Linked DNA regions of Homo sapiens: regions 1, 2 and 3 are each linked to region 4. Evidence: promoter capture Hi-C in 16 types of primary human blood cells and fetal thymus (Javierre and others, 2016). All regions are on one chromosome and are shown on one strand. Each heading gives the region's core, a stretch centred on a gene start or on the middle of the fragment in contact. The rest is flanking DNA. Distances are from core to core; before and after follow the strand shown.

Region 1 (6,845 bases), core at 2,871-5,370, 740 kb after region 4:
CCCGAGCCTGTTTCTCCAGTACGTCATGAGACCAACCAAACTGAGGGTCGGGAGGAGACAGGGAGAACACCCATCTGACCCTCTCACACTCAGAAAACCCTTTGCAAAACCAGCTGGGTTTTTTAGTTTATCATTCAAAGTTATAGGATAGGAAAGTTATATCTTGAATACAGCACTGGGTTTAAGAACATCTTTGAAACAACATTAAAAGAAAAGGGTAGAGGAGCTAAGAGTAAAATTCACATGTGATTCCTTAAGATCAAACCTGACAATCCAGTCTCTGGGAGGGTCCGGATTAGAGGGGAGGAAGGGGCCTGATGGCTTCCATAGAAGGAAGCTGGAGGGTCTCACCTGGGGTCTCACTGGGACTGACGAAGACCAGGTGGTTGGCTGAACATGTCTCTCAAGACACAATGGGCCCAGTGTCCTCAGAGAACACGGTCATCAATGTCAGTGGAAAGAATAAAGATCAGAGGAGAGGCACAGGATGAGGGGACACCCCTCTGGAGTGCTACCCCCACCCCAGCCCTGCTGAAGAGCTCCCCCAGGCCCAGATGCCTCGGCCTTCACTCGTGACTTTGCCCCTGTCTGCAGCAGCGCCCACTCTCGCCTCTTCTCCTGAGAACTAAAGACCTACCGAGATCCAAGGAGATTCCAGTACATCTTCTGTGAGCACTCATCACTGCTGGGGCATTACACTTACATCACTTTTCAGGACTTTTCCTCTTCTCTAGTTTTTTGTTTTTCTTTCATTTAATTTTGGAGTACGGAAGGCCTCCCATATTTATATAGAAGAAAAGACTGAACACATAAGAAATGTGAACGTCTGTGTACACAGTGTCCACGGCTACTTTCGTGCTCCAATGGCACAAACAGATGGTACTGAGATGGCACGGCTCTCAAAGCCTAAAATATTTATTATCTGATTCTTTCTAGAAAAAGGTTTTGGCTGGGCGTAATGGCTCACACCTGTAATCCCAATACTTTGGGAGGCTGAGGCGGGCGGATCACAAGGTCAGGAGTTCAAGACCAGTCTAGCCAACATGGTGAAACCCCATCTCTACTAAAAATACAAAAATAAAAATAGCCAGGCGTGGTGACTTGCGCCTATAATCCCAGCTACTTGGGGGGCTGAGGGAGGAGAATTGCTTGAACCCAGGAGGTGGAGGTTGCAGTGAGCTGAGATTACGCCATTGCACTCCAGCCTGGGTAACAGAGCAAGACTCTGTCTGGAAAAAAAAAAAAAGAAAAGAAAAAATTTTGATCCCTGTGCTAAGAGACTAAATGCCCTGAATGACAGTGCAAACTAAATGGCAAACCAGGAAGCGTATTTTCAGCCCATGTCGGGCACCTGGCTAATATCCATAATAAACACAAAGAGCTCTTGCAAAAACGATCATCACAAATGCACACAACACAAATTTTTTAAAATAGTAGATAAAAGGCAAATCAATATTGAAGAAATGCACACAACCAATAGGCTACAAAGAGTAGTTTTACTTCACTAATAATCAAAGTGACACAGACAACAAAGGTATGTCCTTTCTTACTCATGGGGATCTAAGATTAACACCAATGACCCATCCCTAGTTCATTCTTCATAGGACCATTTCCCACCCAGTACAGCAAGCTCCCTGGCCACAGGCATTGGGTACTATTCATTTTGGCTTTAGGATCACTGCAGGAGCTCAGAATGGACCAGTGTCACAGCTATTTGCTCCCCGTCATATCTCCAGCAAGGAGCCTGGGGTGAGGGCTCCTTCCATGCCATGGAAGAGAATGGAACAGGCAGGAATCAAGAGGGTGAGGGTGGGCTGGGGTTGCCCTGCTCCCAAAGGATCCTGTGCTCCCATCTTACAGCCGCCAGTCCTTTCCTGGGGAGCACCTCTCCTCCACCGCATGCTCTCCTAGTGGGATGGTAAATGCACAGGCTGCCCTCCCACGACAGAAGCAAGGGCTCCCTAGAAGCTCCTCGTACTCCTGCATTCTCAGGCAATGAGATTCCATCCTGGGCCTTGACTTCTGAGCAAATGAGCAAGGCTACAAGGAAGGAGGTGTTCTGCAATCCTGGGGCACTAGGTGGGGAGGGTCAGGGTTCAGACATCACATGGGTCTGCCCGCTAAGACCCTCGAGATCTCCTGGGTTCCTGGTTTTTCCCATCCAGGGTTCTAGGCCTTCAATTCAATCCTGTGGGGGTACTCACAGCTTCCAAGGCAGGAGGGAAGCAACACCACACATTGCCATGTGCCGTCCTCCGATGGCCCCCCGCTCCCCCAGCAGATGCCAAGCCCTCTGGGAAGTCCATCTCCCTCTTGCTGCCCAGACAAACCCTACTCATATTTCACAGCCCAGATGACCTGCCCCTCCCTTCCTGATGATGTCTTTGGGGTGATCCAACTCCCCCACCCTCTGCCAGCTTCTTCATTTTCTGGACCTCTCTGCTCTCCCATCATGGTCCTGGCCTTAGTGGAAAGGCCTGCCTCCGAGGACGAGGTCCTCACTGCCATCTTGCAAGAGAGCTCGCTCCCATGCCACGCCAGGCAGCAGGCCTCCTGGGCCCACACCCTGCTCCTGGCAAGACTTCAGCCCCCTTCTGCTTTGTCCTACTGCTTTCTCCCTTACTCTGTTTCAGTCATGTCAGCTCCTGATATAGTCTGGATATTTGTCCCCTCCAAATCTCACCTTAAAATGTGATCCCCAGTGTTGGAAGTGGGGCCCTGTGGGAGGCATCTGGGTCATGGGGAGCAAATCTCTCATGAACGGCTTGATGTTGTCCTCCGGGTAATGAGTGAGTGCTCACTCTACTAGTTCTCAAGGGTTCTCATTGTTTAAAAGAGCCCCTACGAATGAGGTTTTGACCCAGTAGGCTCTGGCCACCTCCCCTTTTCCATAAAGTTTTTTCTAGAAGTCATGACATTTCTCCTCTTTGATGGAGAAATCTTCTTACTATTACCCTTACCATGAGTTTTCCAGACAAGCAACCTAAAATTAATAATTAGCACAGCTCTCATACTAATTATTATTTTAATCCTAGGCCTAGCCTATGAGTAAGCCCAAAAGAGGTTAGAATGAATTGGTACTCAGTTAAACCAAAACAAATGATTTCAACTCAGTAGATTGTGATAAATCATAATTACCAAATGCCCTCTATTTATATAAATATTATGTTAGCTTTTATTATGTCTATTTTTTTGGTAGGAGGGGACGGTGTCTTGCTCTGTCACCCAGGCTGGAGTGCAGTGCAGTGGTGCGATCTCGGCTCACTGCAACCTCCACCTCCAGGTTTAAGTGATTCTCTTGCCTCAGCCTCCCAGGTAGCTGGGACTACAGGTGCCTATCACCATGCCTGGCTAATTTTTGTACTTTTAATAGAGACAGAGTTTCTACTAAACCCACCAGGCTGGTCTTGAACTCCTGACCTCAGGTGATCCACCCACCTCGGCCTCCCAAAGTGCTGGGATTATAGGCATGAGCCATTGCACTGGTCCTTATTATGCCTTTAATGGGGGTAAGTCTACTGATCCTCCCTGCTATGCCTAGAAGGTATAATTTTATCAATATTTATTATGAGCACTCTCCCCTCTCTCTTGTTCCCTCTCCCTCCATGGGGCATGCCAGCTCCCCTTCTTCTTCTGCCACAACTTGAAGCTTCCTGAGGTCCTCACAAAAAGCAGATGCCAGTGCTATGCTTTTTGTACAGCCTGCAGAATTGTGAGCCAAATAAACTTCACTTCTTTATAAATTACTCACCCTCATGCATTCCTTTACAGCAATGCAGAGAACAGACTAATACACTCCCCATCCATTCTTGGGGAATCAAGCTCATTCCTGCCCCTGGGCCTTTGCACTTGCTGAATTTTCTGGCTCCCTCCTATCATTCCTGTCCCAGCTCAAATGTCATCCTTCAAGGAGGAGGAATATAAGGCCAAAACCAGTTTACATTTCTTTAGCTGTTTTCTTGGCAATTTAGATCCATCCATTCAACCAGAGTCTCACAATAGCTCTGTGAGGCTGGCAGGGCAGCAATTATAAAAGTGGCCAGCCCAATGTCACAGCTAAAACACTGCAAGCTGGAACTGCTTACAACCCTCATAACTCTAAGCCCAGGTTTGTTTCCTAAGTCATGTGCCCGATCACAAAGAAGAATCAACATCCCTCACTGATTATGAGATTTGATAGGCAGGCTCTCTAAGAACACCAGGTCAAGGGCAAAAGGAATGTCGTCAAATCAGACTCCAGGCATCCAGCTGGAGGGACCCTCCAGAAAGAGATAGAGTTGATCTCTGTACCTTCAGGGTGAACATATTAGTTCAGCAAATACACAAACCACTTTCTCTGAGCAGAAGTGACACCTTGGCAGCTTCCTGCCCACTGGCATAAGAGCTGTTTTCCTGCTGATTGGCAGCAGGCTAGAATTTGCCCTGTGCCAAGTTCCTGGTTAGGACTTTATTGAAACCATTATGGGGACGTTTTCAGTAACACAGTGGCTGGACAGTCCCATGGATGAGGGCCAGCAAGCCCCAGTCCTTCTCTGGATTCTGCTGTTCCAAGCTATGTGACCTTGAGCAAGTCCCTGTCCCTTTACTCCTCTAAGCTTTAGTCCCTGCCTTGAATAAAGGTGCTGGGGAAGAGCCCACCAAACTGGTGGATAACTCACCCAGTCTTGCACTTTTTTATTTTTTTATTTTATTATTTTTTTTGAGACAGAGTCTCACTCTCTCACCCAGGCTGGAGTGCAGTGGTGCAATCTCAGTTCACTGCAACCTCTGCCTCCCGGGTTCAAGCGATTCTCCTGCCTCAGCCTCCCAAGTAGCTGGGACTACAGGCGCGTGCCAACCCACTTTGGCTAATTTTGTATTTTTAGTAAAGACAGGGTTTCACCATATTGGTCAGGCTGGTCTTGAACTCCTGACCTCAAGTGATCTGCCTGCTTTGGCCTTCCCAAGTGCTGGGATTACAGGCATGAGCCAACGCGCCCGGCCCAGACTTGGGCACTTTGTGTCCATCATGGTCACTAACTCCCTGGGGACTTCTGGAAAGTCCTTAACTGCTGAGCCTCAGTTTCCCAACCTGTCAAATACTGGGCTAAATCAGAGGTATGAAAACAATTGCCCCACAGGCATGTTTTGTCTGCACTGTAGAGCACAACAAAACTTTGAATTAGGTGCAACAATAATCAGAAAGTTTTACATAAAAATCTAGAGTTCTGGCTACCTTTGAAAAAGGTGGGGAAGATCCAGGAACCCTGAGCTCACATTATCCATAGGACGATCTCACAGAGCTGAGTGGCAGCCATCTCCTTTGGTTGGCACCTAGTCAGTTTTACAATTCACTGCAGACCCCACTGCTCTCTACTGTCTTGCCCAGATGTTTCAACCCATTTGTGTTACCCACGTGGCCCCTGGGGATATATGAAACTGACTCCTGGGCTGAGTGTTCCAACGGTCACCTCTGCTCCTACTGTCCATGACTTGTCTGATATTCACATGCCAACAGATGCTGCCTGCCATCCCCTGGGGCAGTCAGTGGAGGGCTGACCAGCTTGAGGGTGGGTCCTGCAGGGCTGCCTTCCACTGTACTGCTAAGGGAGAGGCCCTGCCTCTGCCAGGATTCCAATCCCCCAGTCAGAACAAAGATGACAGCCTCCAAAATGCACCAATCAGCCACCAGCCATGTGAAGCTCTCTGCTGCAGCTGCAGCCTCCTGTAATTACCTGCCCCGTGTAATAAAGTCCCCATTTAGAAATCTTAGAAAAGATCCTGCAAGGAGAACTTTTTCCTTGATAATTTCCTGATCAGAGAATTTCAGGGTTGGAAAAGACTTTTAAAAGGGCATCTAGAGCAACCCTTCATTTGATGCTTAAATCTTATCCAGCGAGACTGACACATACCAATTAGTCAAGGACTTCAGGTTTGCCCAGCACTGCTGGAAGCTGGGAATACAAAAATGCAGCAAACACAGCCCCACCCAGGAGGACTCCCTAGGCTTGGAGGCTGGTCAGGTAAACATAGTGACAAGCAAGGACTGCAAGGACTCTAAAACCCAAAAGCTACATTTGCTCAGCAGTACTATGCGCCAAACACTTTGAATAAATTATCCCACCTAATTCTCAAGAAAAGTCTTCTAGGAGGTGCTATTTTTAATCCCCAGCTTGCAAGTAAGGATCTGAGGCTCAGAGAGATTAAGGCCCTTGGTTAAGGCCACAGAGCCTGTAGGTGCTGGAGCAGACTCTGATCCCAGCAGTGCAAGGCTCTGGAGGAGAATCTGTAAACACGACCTCAGGCTGCTATTGACAAGGGCAGCCCGTGGAGGGAAGAGAGGAGGCCTGAGATTAGAGCCCCTCGGAGGTGCAAACGTCTGTCTATGTTAAATTCTGAAGGGTAAGCAGAAGAGACATGGAGGTCAGGGTAGGGTAGGGAAAGGGAGGACAGAGGGGCCTGGTGAGGGCAGGCAGGGCAGGCATGAAGGTCTAGGGCCTCATTAGCAATCAGAAATGCAAATAAAAACAGAATAAGACATCTTTGACACCTACTAGCCTGGCAAAAATTAGAAGACACTGTGATGCCAAGAAGGCACAGTGATGCCAAGTGTTAGCAGGCATGTGCAGACACTCATGCCTCATGCCCTGTGAGTGAAAGTGTGGACTCATTAGCCACACTAGCTAATGGAGGTACAGGTGCAAGGACGTACCTGGAGGTACAGAGGCAGGTTACACACAGGCACACCCTAGGCCCCAGCAATTCCATTCCTGGGTAAATACTAGAGCTGTGCAAGCTACTGAGCAAATTCCAGAATGTTCTTATGTATGTTAAAGGAAGATAAATTATGGCTCACAAAGAATTTA
Region 2 (6,574 bases), core at 3,492-5,991, 700 kb after region 4:
GCCTGTATCCCGATTCTTTATTCAAAGCGTGTGGTTTCCGTATTATCTGTGCATTTTTTAGAACCCCAAAGCTCTAAAGCCCTGCTCCTTTCTGTTGATTTCCAGAGGGTGAAGCCCCATTCCTTCCAAGTGGCTGCCCTGGGATCAGCCACCAGAGGCTAAACTTCAGAAAAAGACTGCAGAGAAGGGCTGCAGGTAGGGGAAGACATCTGGTAAATGGGAAACAACTAAGTGGAAATATATTCAGCCTTAATTAGTACTGAAAAAAAAAAAAAACCCACCTAAGTTCAGTATTACTTGCCCATTAAACCAACAAAAATAAATACAATTGTTAAAACTAATGTTTGCAGGGTTGTAGAGAACCTGGTGAAGTAACATTTCTCCCATGTAACACGAAGGAGGCTGAGACTCAGTGAGATGAAGAGCTTCTTCAAAGTCACTCCTGATGGGACCTACAAACTCTGCGACAAAACCTAGGAACGCTGATGCCAGGCCCCAGTTCCTAAGTCTACATTATAGCCTGTGTTCTTTGAAGACACATGGCTTATATCCAGAAGCTGATGTTTTTCCCTTACGCCTTTTTAACCCTCCTGGGCGACACCAGCCTAAGAGTTTTAGAAACCGCCCTCCCCAAGAAGAAAGATCGATACTGTCTTGGTGATACTCTCTAATAACAGTTTTTAATACGGTATTTCCAGAGGTTGGATTTGATGTTCTCTTTTGCAAAAGTCACCTAACTTTTCTGAGTTTCAGTTTCCTTGTCTGTAAAATGAGGACAAAGGCCCCCAAGTTTCTCCTTTACCTGCTGTTGTGTAAGGTCCCTTCCTGTTTGGTTTATATAAACAGGCTGTGTAGTACCCTGTTTGTCCCCAAAAGGCCTTTGTAAACAGAATCCCATGGTGACACTGAACATCACAGACTCCAGGCTCTGAAGAGGAAGTTTGGACTTAACGTGGTCCCAGCAACTGCTGCTACAGGGGGAATCAGATCCAGAGAGGAGATGGGATGTGTGTGAAGCCACCTCTGCCATCAATGTGTCATTTTCCCAACCCTGCTGGTTCTCAAGGGAGGGCAACTTTGTGCATGCATGTGCACCCACACACACGCACACCCCACCTGGGACACCTGACAATGTCTGGAGATCTTCTGGCTATCGCAACTGGGGATGGGGCACTCCTAGCATTTAGTAGGTAGAGACCAGTGATGCTGCTAAACATCCTGCAATGCACGGGGCAGCCCTTGTGACTAAGGCTGATCCTGCCCCACAAGTCCATAGTGCTGAGGCTGAGAGCAGACCCTAATCCTTACCATGCCTGGCTCGCCACCTCCTTCCCTAGACCCTTGGATCTTTGAAAGGGAAAAGACCCTACCTGCCCGGTTCTCTGTTACCTCCCCAGAGCCCACCCCAGGACCTGCACACAGTGGTGCTCAACACAGATTAGCAAACCAGGACTCAGCCAGGTCTTTGGAAGCATAGCCCAGGGCTTTTGACCTTTCTAAGTCTCACACATGTTTTCTGTTCATTTCAAATAGACCTTCCCCAGAATCTACCTGGATAACCTCTCTGAATCCTTCATGATGAACCTGGCCATCACTCCTGTAGGAAGCCTTCTGCGATAACCCCAGGCTCCAAGGGGAGTTGGACATGAAGACCATCGCTCCTGTGCCCACTTCCTGCACAGCACCTATGGTCCTGGCTTGAGTTTGTCTGTTTTCCCTTCTCTCCCCATCACTCCTGCAACCCAAGAAAGGAAAGACTCTATCTTTTCCATCTCAATGTAGTGATGCTTGGCATATAGTAGGTGCTCAATAAATAAGACATGAACACATATATCTTGCTCTTCTTCGATCTATTTTGCATTTAACATGGGAATGACCTTTCAAATGACAAGATCAGATCATGAAACCCCCTGACAAAAATTCTACAGTGATTTCCTGTTGCACTTACAAGAAATCCCAGAGTCCTCCCCTGGGTCTTGCTGACTCTCAGGCCTCGTCTCACTGCACCTCCCCTGATTTACAGCCCCCCAGCCATGCAGAGCTCCTCTACTCCCCATTACATCCAGCAGAGGCCACCCTCGGGCTCTTGCACCCGCTGTCCCAGACACCTGCAGTGCATGGTCCTGCTCTTCTCATGGCTGCTGCCTTCTCTGCCTGTGGGTCTCAACTTGAGTCCTGCTGTCTCAGAGACCTCCCTGGTGACCCCATTTACAGAAGCCCCCTCTAAGTTTCTATGACAAACCTCATTGGATCTGTCTTCAAAGCACTTCTGTGTGAGCCTACCTTGTTTATTTCTTATCTTCCCCTCCCAGCCAGAATAAAATTCCATGAGAATAAGGATCTCTCTCTCTTTTTGCATTTCAATAGCTGTAGTGGGTGAAATAGTGGCTCCCAAAAAGATACGTTCAAGTGCTAGTCACCGGAATCTGTGAGCATGACATTTGGAAAAAGCGCCTCTGTGGGTGAAATTGTTGAGGATCTCTGCATGAGATCATCCTGGATTAGGGTGGGCCCTAAACCTGATGACAGGTGTCCTCATAAGAAAAGGAGAGGGACATGTGAGACATAAAGGGATACAGGGAGGAAGGCCCTGTGGAAGTGGAGGCAGAGGCTGGACTGCTGCAGCTCTGAGCCCAGGAACGCCCAGCACTGCCGGCAGCTGGCAGGAGCCAGGAGCGGGCCTGGGGCGGCTTCCCCCTCAGAGCCTCCAGGAGGAGCCAAGTCTGCCCATAATTTGTTTTCAGACTTCTGGCCTCCAGAGCTGCAAGAGGATGCACTTTTGGTGTTTTGAGCCATGAATTGTGCAGAAATTTGTTATGGCAGCCACAGGAAACTAAAGCCGTGCTTCCTGCTCTGACTTAGATATAATAGATCCTCAATAAATAGTGTGGGACAATAATCTGAATCCTACTAACTGCCTGGCAGGGCCCCAGGTGTACACGGGGACTGAGCATTTAACTCTGAGAGCACCTCACTCTCATTACCAGACCCCTACCCTCAGCCCAGACTCCCACTTTCAGCCCAGGCCTCCCACTCTTATCCAGATCCCCACTCTCAGCCCAGACCCCACTCTCAGTCCACACCCCAACTCTCAGCCCAGACCCCGCTCTCAGGCAGCATCTCACCAGCCACCATCGGTAGGTGTCGTCCTCCAAGAGCGCGTTCTGGGCGGTCAGCAGCGGCTGCATGGTCTGGTTGAACCTCTCATCGAACCAGGCCGAGAGCTTGCGCTGCCCGATGCAGTGGGTGCAGGTGCAAGGCCTGTGCTTGATCAGTCTCTTCAGGTTCTCGGAGAGCTCCAGGACCATCTGCTTGGGGAACCAGGTGGTGGCCACCATGGTGTGGGAGTAGTTCAGGAAGAAGGAGGTGAGGAAGATGAAGAGCACGAGGAAGGTGAGCACTTTCAGGGTCCTCTTCCGCAGGGTCACCATCTTCGCAGTCCTGATGGTGGCCTCCCACGATGGGTAGCAGGAACTCCCTCCTAAGAGAGGAGAAAAATGGAAGAAAAATCCCAGAGGTGGAGGCTCAATCAAAAGGGATGGCAGGAATTCCAAGGGAGGACACAAGGGCCGCTAAGCTCGACTTCACTCCTGCTGGGGGATGACCCCCAACTGTGTCCCAGACACGGCTGTGTGGTAGACCAACGCCATTCGTGGCATGTTGGCTTTGCTTGCATATATTTACCTTTTCAGAAAATAAAGTAGCCTATTCTTCTGCAATCCTTAAAGAGCTGATAATGTCTCTCGATCAAGCTTTAACCAGTGATTTCCTTTCACATCCAAAGAAGATAAGGGGTCATTAATCTCTGTGACAGTCCAGGGTCCCTCAGGAGCGAGGACCTCGAAGGAAGGGTGTTGGTATAGCGGGGAGGGAAACTGTCTCTGCCGTCCTCCTCCAACTGTGGTTTCTGACGATCCTTAATTAGGGCTTTTTCTTTCCCATCCTGTCGCCAGGGACATGGTGGGTACACAACCAGCTTGATGAAGGCACAGAAGGTTGTCTGTCATCTGCAAAGAAAAGGAGGAAGAAAACAGCGTGAGATTCTGTGATCCTGCTATAAAAAATGTTTCTCTCCACATCTCCACCAGGACGTATTCCGTGGTCTTCCTTCTGGTGTCATGCCAACCTGGCAGGTGGCTCTGGATGGTTTATCTACCTTTGTGAGCCTGAGTGCGTGCATACAATGGATGTTATCATCTCTTTGCAAGGTTATTATGGGATGCAGAAGGTGTCCCCTCCATGTTTCCAACAAGAACCTAGCACATTGACACACTCAACAAACATTTGTCAAAGAGCTCGTGATGCATGTAGGTACAATATACACAGGAATTGTTAAATGCATGTTATTTGCCTTTCTCTCTACTTCATTCTCTTCCAGATTTTGGATTTCAGCAACAAGCACAACAACAATGGTATGCTTAGAGAGTGGCCCAGGGTTCCTTTTACCTGGGCATTCAAGCTCTGCCAATTGGCCTCAGTTCCATAAAAAGGGGCTTTAGATGGTCCAGGTTCAAGTTCTGATTTCCCAGCTGTGGAGCCTTGGGAAAGTTATTTGACCTTCCTGACCCTCAGTTTCTTCTTCTGCAAAGTGGGATACTAACACCCCTACTTATAGAATGGTTATGAAGATAAGATAAAATGATGTATGCTGGGCTTCTGGTATCTATTAGGCCATTGCTGAACTTTAATTTTTCTTCTTCAACATGTGAATGAATCAATATTCTCTGATGATCCACTAAGAGCTGAGAGGATGAGATATTCATGCATACGTATCTCTTCAGATAATCCTCAGAATATACTGTCAGCTAGATATTAGTTTCCCTTTTTGTCTTGGAAGAAACTGAGACTCAAAGTGCTTAGATGACTTGCCTAAGGAAAGGAAGGAGCAGGATCCGAGTCCAAATCCACAGTCCTCTGATTCCTTACATCGGGAGGGGTTGGGGGACCAGGAACAGGGGGTTGGGGGGCTCTACCCTGGAGCAGACACCTGTCTTGTTAACTGGTCTTCAGATTACTACGGCTGGAGGGATATAGAGCAAGGGGGGAGTATTCTTTTGAAGAAGGCAAACAGGTACCTCTCAAATGCCCATCGGAGACCCCTCTGGCTCTCACCGACACCTTGGGATTTCTGTATGGTACAACTGTGGTTGCACGTCTGCCCTGGAGCGTGGTCTTTTTGGTCTTTGCTTGGAATGCTGAAGAATGGAAGAAATCTGATCGATTCCTCCCCATTCTCAAGGTGTAGATTGTCAATAAGCAGGGTATATTTTTTTCCAGGAAAATTAGAGTTGAAAGGAGATTGATCACCTTTTGGTAGAAAGGGGGACAGCTCCAAAACCATATTAAATCCACAGTGCCCTTCTGAAGACATCCAGGGCCCAAGATGCATAGGGTGCAACCCTCTACAGCTTCCAGAACTAGAAGCCCAACGTATGGAGGACAAGGTCTGAGCTCTGCAGCTCAGTTGGCAACGTCATTTTTATCCGGTCTCTGCTCCAGTTTTCACTTTTCATGACAACCTAGATTTTGTTTATAACCTAGTGGTGTCCACAGGTATCCCATCCAATTCTCTCCCCACCTGCCCCCATCAAGGAGCAGCTCTGTAATTTAAGTAAGAATAACTTCTGCATCATCACAGATAGGCTCACAATTCACTTGACTGGCAGAGGGTTCCCACCTCTTACCCCAGTAATTGATCCAGGGATGGGCATGTGCCTTAATTCATCCAGCCAAGCTTCTGTAGGGAGGGAAGAAACTTTCTTTTGCTCTGGCTGGCTTGTTGTTGACATGTGGAACATCCTGCTGGCTATTTTGCTAGCGTGTGTAGAAGAGACTAGAGCTGAACAACCCGAACAAATGGTGCTAAATCCCTGATCCTGCTCAACCTGCAGCCCCACCCTCACCTTGACTTTTCAGTTACATGAGGGAATAAATCCCCTTTATGGGGTAAAGTAGGTTATTTGTAACTTGAAGCAATGTGACTGACCCAGAGGTCACAGTTGCTCCTACCTCCGTGTCCCTGCTCAGGCTGTCCCCACTGTCCAGAAAACCACCCCACCCTGCTTTGCCGATGGCTCTTACTCATTCTCTAGGGCTCAGCTGGTGCTGACTCCTGGAGGAAGCCCTGCCCTCTCCTGGGGTGAGTTAGGGGCCTCTCCTGGCTCCCTAGGGTCCTGGCTGCACTCTGTCTGTGCTCTTCACACATATGTCTCCTCCCTGGACTGGGAGCAATGTGAGGATGGAAACTCAGCCTCACTATGGCAGTGACCCTGTCACCCGTGCACACACTCAATGCTCAGTGGAGGCTTGGGTCATGAAGAAACCCAGAAATGAATGAAGGGAAACAAAACGGCCAACAGTCCAGAGGGAGAACTGAGAAAGAAAGCACAGACTCTGAGTCACATTTCCATTCTCAGCAGCCTGTCCCACACTACTCACTGCGTGACCATGAACAAGTCACCTAGCCCTTCCGAACCATCCCTTCAATGGGAAAAACGGATTGATAACACAAATTCTGCTCATTTCTCGGGGCCGTCAGCCCATCAAGGTTGTCCATTCATCTCATTCATTGACT
Region 3 (6,517 bases), core at 3,584-6,083, 680 kb after region 4:
CAGCTAATAGGTAGGACCCAGGGCGGCCTGGCTCCAGAGCCCCTGTGTGAATCTCTGCCCCATCCTTCCTCTGGGGGCTGCCCTCAGAAGGTCCCCATAGACAGTGTCTCAAATAACTCAACGTCTTTGCTAAGCACAGAGTGACAGGGAGGCGGCAGGGCAGACAGGAGGCCCGGGACTGGAGAGAGGCGCCTGGCTGTGAACCCACCTCCGCCCTCAGCCATGCAGCAGCCCGCAGGGCTGTTCTGAGTTAAAGATCACGCCCATGGAGGTATTGTGTGCCATACAAACTGGGAGGCCTGGTTACTGTGTATACCAATTTTATCTTACAGGCTCGCAACATTGGGTTTCTGAATCTGTTTTTTTTTTTTTTTAAAGGGAGATTAGTGCCAACTTTGGACCAAACTCTTGTCCATCCCTGGGTGTGCCCGTCTCTGTCGGGGGAGGACAGACACTAGCCCAGCCCAATCAGGCCCTGGCCAAGGTGAATTCACTCAGCAAACGTTCAAGCAGGTGGTGCATGTCTACTGGGCCTCTGGAGATGCTTTTGTTTTTACTCCCACATCCCCTCTGAAGGCCAGTGTTGTCGCGCCCATTTAATACATGAGACACGCAGCTGAGGTTCAGAGAACTTAGGTGACTCGCCAGTCACACGGCAGGTAATGGGACTCCTGGGCTTGAGAAGAGGCCTCTCCAAGGCCTACGCTGGGGCTCTCCTCTGTATCCTGAATTCTGGCCATTCGGTAGTGGCGACGCCAACCCAGGAGGCCCTCTGAGTTGGAGTGTTGAAGGAGGCGCAAATGCATGACCCTTGTAGAAAAGCAACAAACACACCCAAACAATAAAATAGCTCTTTGTTTATTCACTTTGATTTGGATCATTGGAAATATTAAACAATAAATAAAACAGAGCGGGGGCTGAGGAAAGCAGGATCTTGCTGAAGTCATTCGAATGCATCCCAACCAGTGCTCAGCTGCGTAACGACATGGAGAGAGGCAGGGGGGAATAGAAAGCAAATTTAAAAACACCAACACCCAAACACACAAGACTGCACACAAGAAAAAGTGCTCAAGAAACTTTGGCTTTGAAGGGAATTCAGTGAAGGGAAGCGATTGTGCAGGAGGAAGGGAAGAAACCCACGATCACCCTAAGGGGCGGGGGGCTGGAGGGCGAGGCCCTGAGACAGGCTAGGGTTAAAGCTGACGTCCCACAGCTCAGGACGTACAACCGATGGCAGTTTTGTACTAGGAAGAAGCTGAGTGATGAGGCTGGGTGATGGGATCGCTTGACGGGCTGGGAGGGAGGACAGGAGGTGTAAAGGTGGCTCACCTTCCCCTAGGAAATTCAGTGCTCTTTTGGTAAGAAAAAATAGTCGGTAATGCCCTGATCCTGACAAGCTGTGAGATGCTGTCTTGCCTGTCTCTGCCTTTTCTTCTAAGTTTTCCTCCTTTTCTTTGCACAGGTGTCAGGTAGCACCCCAGGGGTGCAGGAGCTGGTGTTTTCATGACAAACAAAAATGGGGAGGTTGACTCTATCTCAAAACTAGCTAGCCCAGTCCACAGGGCAGGATAATCCTGATGGCGTGTAGCCACATTTGCTGCAAACCAGATGTCTGCGATGGATATAATGATACCCCCGGGGCTCTTCTCAGGGGTGAGGACAGGTGCTGGTTCCTGATGGTGCATGGCTGGTGTCCAGTCATCTTTAGCTGGGCAGTGGCCCCTCGAGGCTCGGGCTTCCCTGCACAAGGTATTTTTGATCCTTGCCAGCGGAGGGAGAGAGAGTTATCTTGGTTTCCTTTCACTTGTTTTCGGGCTGCTTCAAAGCAAACATCCCAGTTCCAAATGTTCTTTGTGGTTTGAATCCTGGCAGAGGCCAGGGTCACATCCAAGTGGGACTGGCCTCTAGCACCACCTTCTGGCCACAGCAGAGAATGGGATTCCATCAAAGCCTCTCAACCAGCCGTTTCCCTAAAGAATCACCCAGATCTTAACTGCCCTCTCCACCTTCTTTTTTTTTTTCCCTCCTATTTTACATTCTATTTTCTCATATCCAGCTTTTCTCTCTAAGCCTAACCAAATGCTTTGGTGAATGATGCTTGGAAAAGCTGGAGTTTTAAAAGGCATTCATCCATTTATGAACTTTCTTCCAGCCCAGGATCCCTGCAGAGAACCAGAGGTTACAAATCTGCCCTCCTTTCTCCCCTAAAAGGTGGCTGAGGGGAGGAGAGGTGCATGTAGCTCCAGCTATAGCAAATCAGTGCCCTGACTCACTGGGGAGACCCAGGGGGTTGGGATGTTGCTGACACCTCATGGGCCACCTCATCAGCCCATCTTTGTAGCTTCAGGTTCAGCTCTGGGTGCTGCAGGCAGGGACCCCTCTGCTCCCTGCCTGAATGCAGGGCCAGTCTCCAAGGAACTCTGTCTGCAGAGTAGAAAGAGCTGTGGGCTGGGAATCAGGGGCCTGAGGGAGCCCCTGCCACTGCCTGCCCAGAACCAGTGCTCCTCATTCTCCTGCTGACAGCATGCATGTGCCTTTTGGCTAACACACACTCTTGTCTAATTCCCAGCCACCTTCACCCCAGGGATGAGTTCCAGTTGGTTTAAGCCAGACTGGTGCATTTAATTCTGGCTGCAACAACTGGATTCTGTTAAGTGCCCATTGCTAAGCCAATGAGCTATCTGCTGGGCTGTGGGAAAGAGAAATGCAGTCTCCTGCACGGGAGGGTGTGAGAAGGCCACCCAGGCAGCCTGCAGCTAGAGCTCGGCGCTGAGAGAGCACAGGAGAGTCAGACACCTCCATTCTGGTTACACTTTTTCCAGATGCTGAATGGAGACTCGCTGGGAAAGCCCGCCTCCAGACAATTTCAACATAGCGCCGGTAACACCCTAGTTTTGCTCAAACTCTGACTTGTGCTATCTGTCCCAGACAGTTCACGACTGCCCGTCACTTCCCTCCTTCACACTGCACCAGGAAAAGGCCACACCTCCCTACACAGCAGCAGCCTTTTAGGAAATGTGCTCTACAGGAAAAGTGGTTTTTCTGATTAAACATCAGGAACTAGAGTCAACAATCGCTGTCCTCTCCCGTGCCTGTCACGCTCCACTCCCCACCCAGCTGCAATGTGGCCTTGATTTTCTCATCAGTAAAATGGGAAAGCTGGATTTGGAGGCTGGAAGAGATCTCACAGCTTGACCACCCTAGTAGGAGGGAGGGAGACCAGACGGAGGCCAGGCAACCGACCCAGGCAGCATCTGGCTCAGACGCAGACACATCTTCATGTTGAGGGACCTATTCTTACACAGCAAAACCCAGAGAAGTCGACTGCTCAGCCTGAGCCTGTCATCCCTATATAGACTCAGCTTTTAGGAGAAGAGGGAGAGTTGAGGAGATAGCATCGCTCTCTGTATCAGTGTCTGATGATCTGGAGTCTGCCCCTGGGGTCACTCAGTCACTCAACAAACATTTGTTGAGCTCTTAACGTCATATATGGGTGTGAGCTCTGCCCTTCGAGGCTGTATGTTCTGAATGATGACTCAGTGATTTACCAGCCTTTCTCAGAAAAAAGAAAAGTCTTTAAAGTTTTGGAGGATTTTAAAGCTGAAACAGGTTTTCGGTTTGTTTAACACATTCCCCATTCTGAACCTTTGAGAATCTAATAAAAGCTATGGTCCTTTCTCCAGAAAAATGCTCATATGCAGAGATTCAGGGAAAAAACCAAACTTGGCACGCAACTTCCGGGGACTCTTGTGAATGGCCTGAAGCCACCTGTGACCCATGACTGATGTCCCCAAGTTCCTCCCTCCCCGTGTGCAGAGGGGGCTCCCCCGAGCCTGGGAGCACAGGCCCCATGCCTCCGTCACACTCCACCAGGAAAAAGTCACGCCTCCTCAAAGCAGCAGCGACCTTTTCAGGGATATTTTCAACAAGAAAGTGGTTTTTCTGCTTAAACATTAGTAACTGGAGCCAACAATCACCGTCCCCCACATTCCTGTCACTCTCCACTCCACACCCAGCAGCAATAAGGTTTCACGGAGTTTTGGAGACTCCTAGCCTGAGAATAAATCCAAGTCCACAATGAGGAAGAAGGAAGGTTGGGTTGGGACGGGAGGATGCTGAGGACATTCCACAAACCATCCAAGCCCTAGATACCCCCAATATCCCACGTCCGAGGACTCCTACAAACCTCCCTTAAGCACCCCCACCTAATTTCCCAGCTACTGGGTGAGGCAAGCTTCATTAAAACACCAGGACCACCAACAGAGCCAGGGTGCAAACAATGTCAGTTGAATAAAAAAAAGAAATCAATAAATAATCAGGAAGGCTAATGAGGAAAAGAGAGTAGCTGGGGAGTAAGAAGATGAGGTATGTGGCAGTTACCATTCCTGGGATGTCCTTGACCCAGACCCCCAGTGACAGCCCCAAGATGGCCAGCAGGGACTTGACCCTGAGCTCAGGCCCTTGGGGAAAATGCTGCTGGCAGCCTCCTGTGTGGCTTTGGAGGTTACGGGCACCATATTGAACAGTCTGAGAATGAGAATGTACGTTCCATTCTGACGCACTGCTGGGTGGTGTTGAGTATCCTCAGAGCTTCGTTGCAATTCAGGTGCTGGCTCAGGAAACCAGAAAAGATGTTCCCAGCTACGGAGCAAGCAGGGCCGCTGGTGGGGGTCCCTTTTCCCAAGTAAGGGCTTTTGTTTCATTTCAGCCAATGCATGCTTTTCTTTCCCAAATACAAAGGCACATGGAAGTGGTCAGATCCGCTCTCGCCACGATTAGAACCATGAGACTGACTACTCAAAGGAACAACTGCTTGGGAAGAGGCATCTGCAGGAGTCAGAAACACGGTGCCAAGTTTGGGGTTTTTTTTCTTTTCTTTTTTTTTTTTTTTCAGAGACAGGGTCTCACTCTGTTGCCCAGGCTGGAGTGCAGTGGTGTGATCACAGCCCACTGCAGCCTCGAACTCCTAGGCACAAGAGATCCTCCCTCCTCAGCCTCCCTAGTAGCTGGGGCTACAAGTGTGTGCCACCGTGCCTGGCTAATTTTTTTAAATCTTTTATTTTTGTAGAGACAGGAGTCTCACTATGTTGCCCAGGCTGGTCTTGAACTCCTGGGCTCAAGTGATCCTCCCGCCTCGGCCTCCCAAAGTGTTCAGATTACAGGTGTGAGCCACGGCACCTGGCCTCAAGTTTCTGTGAAAATCTTTGGGGTAGGAGCCTCTGGTGGCTCATAAATGAGCTTTGGGAAGATGACAGGGTTATCACGCCAAGCAAGAGGCCAGGCTTCGTGCAAAGAAGGGCAGCATCTCGCCCCGAGCGCCAACACCGCCTGGCACGTCTCTGTGCTGGAGGTAATCGCCACTCAAGTCTCTGCCCATCTTCCTGGGAAACTGTCCTGTCTCTCAGAATATAGGCATCTTCCACATTCATTCCCCAAGCTTGCCCCAGGAGCCAAAATGATTTTAGTGTGTGGAGGTTGAACCTTTCCCAGCGTCTCCCCAGCTCTAGGGCAGCAGTGGGGGGACGTTGTCCCCACTCAAGACAGGTTCCAAGACATGCTCTGCCACGCTGGCAGAGCTTAGTGACCTTGCTGAGTAGATGCTGCCAACGGCTGGGTGCAAGAGGCTGTGAGCGGTGCCCAGGCACACACCTGAGGCTGCCCCTCCAAGCTCCGGGATGGAACGGCTCCAGCAAGATGCTGGGGCTGGAAATGCAGAGGTGTGACAGTGCGTCCATCCTCAGCCCTTCACTGCGTCATCTCCCCTTGAAGATCCGGATTTTATTGATGGAGGCCAAGGTGGCCGTCACGTTAGACTCAAAGTCTGCATCGTGCACCCCCGTCTTGCGAAAAGCCCCCGCGGATGGGTTGTTCTCCCAGTAGTGGTGCCAGTTCCCTTTGCTGTCTGCCCCGAAGCCGTACAAGTCCACCTGTGGGAGCAAAGCAAAGATGAGAACCAGACAGCAGGGCTGCTGGTGGCACCTCTGAGAAAGGAAGCCTGTAGGCGTTCCTGGAATCCCACAGGACCATAAACAGCATTTCCAAGGACTCTGACTAACCCTTCATTAAAAACCCTTCTCTACGTTCCTGGAACTCTCAGAGTCTTGGTGAAGCAAATGCAAGTTAAGTAAAACTCAAGTCTAATTCCAGAAGCACCCTGAGAGATTACTGCATCTGGGTGGTCTCAGGGGCCCGGGTCTTACCTCTGCAGCAAGTGCAACCTATTCTCCCAGGATTGAGGAGCTACAGAGGGAAGGAATAGGAAGGAGGGCGTGGAATGGAAGAGAGTGGAAGGAGAGCAGGGCTTTGGGGCCAAGCAAACTGCCCCAAATCCCAGCTCTGCCACTCCGTGGTGCCCTGGGCATGTGAAGTCACTTCTTTGAGCCTCACTTTCCTCATCTGGAAAATGGGTCCAAGAATCATGATTGCAGTGAGGCAGAGGGCAGGGCTGATCCCTTTCTTCTCTGTGGCCAACATTCATCTGGTCCAGGCGCCCTCAGGGCCACTAGACCAGGCCTTT
Region 4 (6,562 bases), core at 2,879-5,378:
AATTATTAATAGCCCTTCCTTCCATTCTCAAAAGTGTTCAGGGTTGGATGATAAATTTTCTGTTCACTCTCTTGCTTCATGGTAATCTGCACACACACAAAAGAGTTCTTTGTCTCTCTTGCTGCATTTGCTGAAATAGACATACATATTTTTTCTATTTTATGACCCTTAGTAGCAGAGACTTTGATATCTTAGAATCATTATTGCCAAGCCTAAAAGTTTTAAAAATCTCAGAGATCCATGTGGCTCTGAGTAACATGTAAACTGAGTAACACATAAACTTACATATATACATATATATCAAAGTAATATATATTACTTCAATATTATGTACTTTGTATTTATAATATATATGTATTATTATTTACTTTAATAACATCATATTTCTTTATTTTATTTGTATATATAAGTATGTTTAAAGTAATCTGGAACACCCTATCATCCTTAGAGTTGGCTCATTCTAAGAAAGTGGAATATAAACCTACGAATCACAGTGAGGAATACATTAGAGAGGTGAAAAAAATGCTGCGGGAACACTGGGAGAGATGACATCTCTGCCAATTCATACATGGCCTAGAGCTCCTATTGCCAGGGATTAATTCTGGAATAACTATAATTTCTGTTCAGTTGATAAAGGGATATGGTGACAGAGGAAAGATAAGTGAGCTCTTTGGCAGGTGAGGAAAATGATGTCAGTGCTATTTTCAAAGATTTTTATGCACATGGAATGAAGAGATTTGACAGAGGCTATCACAGTAGTTTACGTTTCTGCTAAACTAACCTTAAAAAAAACTTGAACTGCTTTGATTTTCTTTACTAATGCTAATTGTAAATATTAAGTAAACACACAAAAAATAGCTATCTTGTGTTTTATTTGTAATCAAGGAGTATCTGGTATTTAGTAGTAACTTTTTTTCCTACCTTAAAATAGGTATACATTTGTTAAATATTCCAGGAGACATTATGGTTCCATATTCATATTTTTAATGTTGGAGGAATTTAGTTCAGTGATTTCTGCCTAACAACTGTTGTTTCAAGATAATTTGCTCACTGCTTGTTTGGTTCTGCTCAAACACAGCTGTAAGTTCTTTCTTTCTATATTTGGAGATGGAGTGACTGATGGCTGGGCATCAACCATCTGGAACAGGGTGTGCTGGGTGGAAGAGAGGAGAAGGGACAGATCAATGCACGGCTTCACTACATGGCCAGGGAGTCAGTACTAGAATTTTGTATATCCTGTATCCCTACTCTGATCCTGACCTTTGACTCTATGTGGTTAAAAGAGGAAATGACATCCTACCTGAATTTTTTGTCAGTTTTATCAGGCTTAGTGCCTTCCTTTTAGAGTCAATATTATATTCACACCCTCTCCACTTCCCAAAATTAACTTCATAAATAACATAACCAAGCTATACATATATACTTAAAAATCAATATGACTATGATAATATAAAAAATTTATGAAAATAATTCATAAAAATCATATATATTTCAATACTTAACATTCATCCATGTATCACAGAAATATATAATGAAGTAGTGAGGTGCTTGTATCTAAATTTAGATTTCCCTAAATGTAACAGCTACGCAACTAGACTGACACAGGTGCATTCTATCAGTGCCTCAAATACTATGAGTAATTAGCCGTTGGTGGCATGATATTTTAAAATGAGATAGACTCTTGATAATGTTCAGAAAAAAGGTCAGTGTTTCCTTACATTACACAGTTGCTTCATTCCTGTAAAATTTAATGTATATTAAAACCTTCCAAAAATACTTATATGTGAAATGCAGTTCTAGGCAGGGACAATTATAAACAGGTTTTTCACCTACATGAATGTCTGGAAGGACATCTAGAAGTCATGCATGACCTGGGGCAATTCTTCAAGGTATGGAACTGCACTGTGCATTTCAGGATATCTAGCAGCCCTGGTCCCTTCCCACTAAATAGTAGCAGTGCCCTACCCCAATCCTGAGACAATAAAATACCATCCTCCATTTCCAAAGTGCCCTCTAGGGGACGGTATTAACTCCACAGAGGATTACTAAGCCTATACAATTCACTGAAGCTAGGGATCATTTACATAAGACCTTATTTTATTTTTTTCTTTCAAGTGTCATTATTGGAAGACCCATTGTCAAGTTCCAATTAAAATGGAACAATCATCTTTCCAGGGTGGATTCTCAACAAATAGTTGGGAGAATGGACAGAATCTGTTGTTCTTTATGTATGTATTTTATTTAAATTGCAAATAACCTCAAGTTTTTAGTGGTGTATAATAATAGATATTTATTTTTTCTCAGTCACTAGCTTGTGATTCAGCAGGGGTTCTGCCAGAGTTCAGAAAGATTTAACTCCAGGCTGACCATCAGAAACTTGAATACTGGTACTGCCACAGATGTGGGAGAAAAGTTTCCTTATTTTGAACATCATTAGCAACTTCTGATACAAAGTCCTTGGTAAAAGAGTTTTACTTGAGGCTAGAACTTTAGCTGCAAGGGAGACTGGAAACATGAGTTTCTGATATTTTCATCTTATTTAGTGGGAGGTTGATTCTGCATCCAAGATTCATAAGGTGGATGTATCATTTAGTTTGGGTAGGATTATGCCATGTAACAAACAATCCAGCACCCAAATCTCCATAGTTAAAATAATAAATATTTATTTTTTTCCTTATACAACACAGTAGTTGTAGATTATCAGTGAGGCCTTGGTTCATCATAATCTGTCTAGAACCTGGATGGTAGAGCAGCTATCATCTCAAGCAGTGCTTTACACTGTGCCAGAGACAGAAACTTTGGTGAGCTGGCATTAAAAATTACCAACTGGCCATGACAAATCTCACTTCTAATTACATTTTATCAGCCAAAGCAAATCAAATAGCCATACATAATTCTAAGGAGGGTGGAAAGTATAATCCTGTCATGTCCTAAGGAAGATGCTACAAGTATTTGGTGTTCTGAACTAATGCAACCATGATGAGAAATTTCTCAAACATGGAAAGAGAGTTGAGATGCTGGGCAACCAAAAAACAAGATAACAAATATCCACTAGAGACTGTCTTATTTATATCTTTTCTATAACAAATATCCACTAGAGACTGTCTTATTTATATCTTTTCTATGTATCACCATGCTCAGTCTAGCTCAGTAGCTATTAGTGACTTAGTAGATGCTGAATGAATGTTTGTTGAATAAAAAAAGAATGATTGTTTAATTTACCAAATCTTACTATAACTGAAGCTTAAAGAGAGTTACTTTGCTATTTTAACTCCACACTATGAAGCAAGATAAATATAAGTGACATTTGTATGCAACGTTGCACTTGAAAACCAGAGTGGTACAGTGGAAACCAAGAGAAAAAAGATGTTTCATTTCAATATTATTTTCAATGTGTTCACTTATTGGTTTCTCCCCACAGCAAGGATACTGTCTCCTGTGCTTAGTAAAGTTTGGGAGGGTAGGTATTCGATAAAAGCAGTTCTGCTATCATTAGCTGTGTAGTCTTGGGGAAGTGATATCAATGTAGCCATAGGTTAAGGTTATTCAGCTGTGCCTGAGCACGCGCGTACACACATCTTAGTAATATTCGTCTTTGTATTGTAAAGATCTCCAAGACTGGAAAGCAATACAATTGTAATACAGTTGTACAGTTGTGATTGTCATGTGACATATTTACAGCCTAGTGTCTATCACAAAGCATCCATTCAAGGGAGGTTTATTGATTTTGTAGTAGTAACCATGCTCTATTCTTGATGTGGAGTGGGATGGATATCTAAGAAAGCATGTAATGCATTTGAAAAAGTTTGCCAAGGGTCCTGGGTAAAGGGGTTTTGGTGACGTGGTTCCCAACGAATCAAGAATAATAAACAATGCCCTTCGTCCTCAAATCTCAAAGGTCAAATACTTCACAACTACCAATAGGCACCAAGAGCTCGCGTTCTTTCCTCCAGTAACCAGAGCCCCGCCCGCTAGCGGTCCGTCAACGACCGCAAAGCCCCGCCTCCTACGGCGGCCCGCCAATCGGCTGCGCGGCCCGGGCCCAACCCTCGTGAGTCACGTGACAAGGCCAGGCCCGCTTCCGGCACGTCGCGGGCGGCTGACGTCGCCGGGGCCCGGCGTCGCGTCAGGGCTGGCCGGCGGCGGAGGCGGCGGCGGCGGCGGCGATGGCAGCGGACCCTGAGCGAGCTTGAGGGCTCGGACCCAGCTCCCTCCCGCGAAACCTTGGGCGGATCCGGCGCTGCGGCCCCAGCTCGCTCCGCTCCTGCTCCCTCCCCGGCCGCTGCCTGGGCGGAGGCAGAGGCAGAGGCCCGGGCTGGCCGCCCTGCTCGTGCCCCAGCTCGGCCCCGGACGGCCCGGCTGCTGTGCAGAGAGGAGGCCGAGTCGGTAAGAGGCGGCGGCGGCTGAGCCGGCAGGCCGCCTGGCCCCCGCCGGGCCGCCCGGGACGCCCCCATTCTGGTGTCTCTCTTTCCGGCCCGCTCCCCTCCCGCCTCCCTCCCCGTAACTCGCCGGCCCTATTGTCTGGGCGCCGCAGCTCCCTCTTCCCCTCCCTTCCTTACCCCCCTGCGGAGGGCCGGATGGCTGTCAAACCTGGAGGCTTCTCCAGCTCCCTGCCAGCCCTGTCAGCCTTTCCTGCCTGTCTCGTGCCACCCCCTCTCTGTCTGGCCTCACCTCCTCACCTTTTTTGGCCTGGCGGTCATTCTCTGACCATTGCTTTACATTGTCGGTCTCTATGTCTTCTTGCTCATTTCTTCTTCCCTCTAACTTGTCATCTCCGAAAACTTCCACTGTCCTATTTCTTGCCATTCTTTGCTCCTTTCCTTACTGTTTTTACTCCTCTCCGTGCTTTCTGCCTTGTTTTTGCTTCAAGTTTTACTCCCAGTAGACTGTCTTACTTTATGAAAGTTCCTTAATTCAAATCCCTCTTCATCCTTCCCTCTTCGAACCTAAGACAAAGGAAAATCTTGTTTTTTTTCTGGTACTTCATCCCTAAGTGTCACTGGGGGATTATACTCATTCAATCCATCACTTAATTATGGGCTCTAAGTTTGATTCTAGATGTTAGTGTACCTTGTGAACTATCCCTTACTGAATTCTTCCTGTGACAGACAGCAGAAAAGGTTGATTCGATTTCTACACAAACATTTAAGTAACTGCCTTACGTGTTGCGCACTGACAAGACCTCTATTAAAAATATTCATACATTTGTTCTTTTGCACCAGCTACACCCTGGGCAAGCTCCCTGTTAACTTTTTAATGCTCTAATATTTGCTTATACCATAGCAGGAGGATACCCACTCTCCCCCTCCAACCATGGGTATTTGAGTTCGCATATTTTCATGGCCAGTATTGATGCTATTTTTTCCCTTACCTATCAGACTCTTTCAAAGAGAAAAGAGGGAGCAGTTGGAATTTTATGTTTGTTGTTCTATTTTGTCTATTATGAATTGTGACAAAACCATTATAAAAGATGACAAGTGTGTGTGTTTCTTTTTTTCTTTTTAAACTGTAGGGAACATAGTCATTAGTGATCTCAAATACCGAAAGACATTTTACGGATCTCTCCTCGCCCCTGATAACAATCAATTTACATTCTTAATTATGAGTTATGTTTTGATTAGGTTATCTCAAAATGTATTCATATTCCTCACATACCCATTAGTGAAAAAGAGGCCACCTCAAGTGTGCTCGGTGGCCACTGTGGCCCAAAATATAGTACTTTGCATGTGAATGACCTAGGGATACATAGGTACTCCTTTGCAGTTTTTGTTCTAGCATTACAACCACTTTTATTATCAATGTGGACACTGTCTAAATTGAAATATAGTAGAAATACTCAGTTAACAAAAGCATGTTATTATTGCTTGTTGAATGTAAAGTATAAGAAAGCAGTCTCTTTTGTAATACTGTATGTTAAATTAAAATTATTGAATTATGTGCTACCAAGGTGGGAGATCATGGGTAATGAAAAATCCTAATCCCAAGAGGAATTAGTGGTATCTTCACTGGCAGAGGAGTGTGCCTACTGTTTCCTCCATCTTTGTGTGCTGTAGGGCCTTATCTAGTGTTTTGTATTATGAGGCACTCAACAAATATTTGTTGAAATTAAAAATTGATTTTGTTCTCAAGAATTTCAGTAGTCCTATTCCAGAACACTCAGCTGTCTTAATTTTTCAAAGGCAGGAAAGCATTTTCAGCTCTCCCCGTGGAGAATTTTCTTGGGTATCTGGAAGCTCAAATGTAAAGCATTTTTAGCTATTAACAATTTTTAACAGTCCATTTACTCATTCTTTTTAGATAGTTTTCTTTGTTCTTTTTCTTAAATCATTATCAAGATTGCCTGCAGATTGCACAGAACTTTATATAGAGATGTTGGTAATACTCCTTCAAATTTCTTAACAATTTGGCAAGTATTTCATATTCTCATGTATTGTTTTAGAAATTCTGTTTAATTTTAATTTGACCTGTTCCCTTATACTCTACTTCCTATGCATTTTCTGCATTGGAATCTAACTTTTTTCTTTCTCTTGAGGTAGTGAAAAGAGAATACTGAAGAATAGGA

What was found. The method cuts DNA at HindIII sites, captures the fragments that hold promoters and counts their contacts. A CHiCAGO score of 5 or more calls a contact.
Region 1: a contact is called between a fragment that was not itself captured here and the fragment with the promoter of PHF20L1 in region 4, in 1 of 17 cell types (activated CD4 T cells). The highest score is 6.6, in activated CD4 T cells.
Region 2: a contact is called between a fragment that was not itself captured here and the fragment with the promoter of PHF20L1 in region 4, in 5 of 17 cell types (activated CD4 T cells, total CD4 T cells, fetal thymus and 2 more). The highest score is 7.3, in activated CD4 T cells.
Region 3: a fragment that was not itself captured here is called in contact with the fragment with the promoter of PHF20L1 in region 4 in 4 of 17 cell types (fetal thymus, total CD4 T cells, naive CD4 T cells and 1 more); the score reaches 6.8 in fetal thymus.

What each region holds. Positions count from the first base shown.
Region 1 is chr8:133,512,667-133,519,511 of GRCh38, forward strand. All of the region lies in intron 2 of ST3GAL1 (ST3 beta-galactoside alpha-2,3-sialyltransferase 1), which reads right to left. Among named protein-coding and RNA genes, the nearest start is that of ST3GAL1-DT, 54 kb to the right of the region's middle. The HindIII fragment of the contact is 946 bases long and covers 3,648-4,593 here.
Region 2 is chr8:133,472,594-133,479,167 of GRCh38, forward strand. It overlaps ST3GAL1 (ST3 beta-galactoside alpha-2,3-sialyltransferase 1), which reads right to left. Exons shown (of 10, transcript NM_173344.3): 4 at 3,685-4,007; 5 at 3,126-3,481. The coding sequence starts at 3,431. Among named protein-coding and RNA genes, the nearest start is that of ST3GAL1-DT, 95 kb to the right of the region's middle. The HindIII fragment of the contact is 1,982 bases long and covers 3,751-5,732 here.
Region 3 is chr8:133,454,011-133,460,527 of GRCh38, forward strand. ST3GAL1 (ST3 beta-galactoside alpha-2,3-sialyltransferase 1) reads right to left here. Exons shown (of 10, transcript NM_173344.3): 10 at 838-5,927. The coding sequence ends at 5,754. Among named protein-coding and RNA genes, the nearest start is that of ST3GAL1-DT, 110 kb to the right of the region's middle. The HindIII fragment of the contact is 1,203 bases long and covers 4,233-5,435 here.
Region 4 is chr8:132,771,260-132,777,821 of GRCh38, forward strand. PHF20L1 (PHD finger protein 20 like 1) reads left to right here and starts at 4,129. Exons shown (of 21, transcript NM_016018.5): 1 at 4,129-4,386; 2 at 6,533-6,562. It also overlaps a transcript of TMEM71 not described here. RefSeq lists an enhancer at 3,858-4,359 and a silencer at 4,114-4,563. The HindIII fragment of the contact is 4,916 bases long and covers 3,242-6,562 here.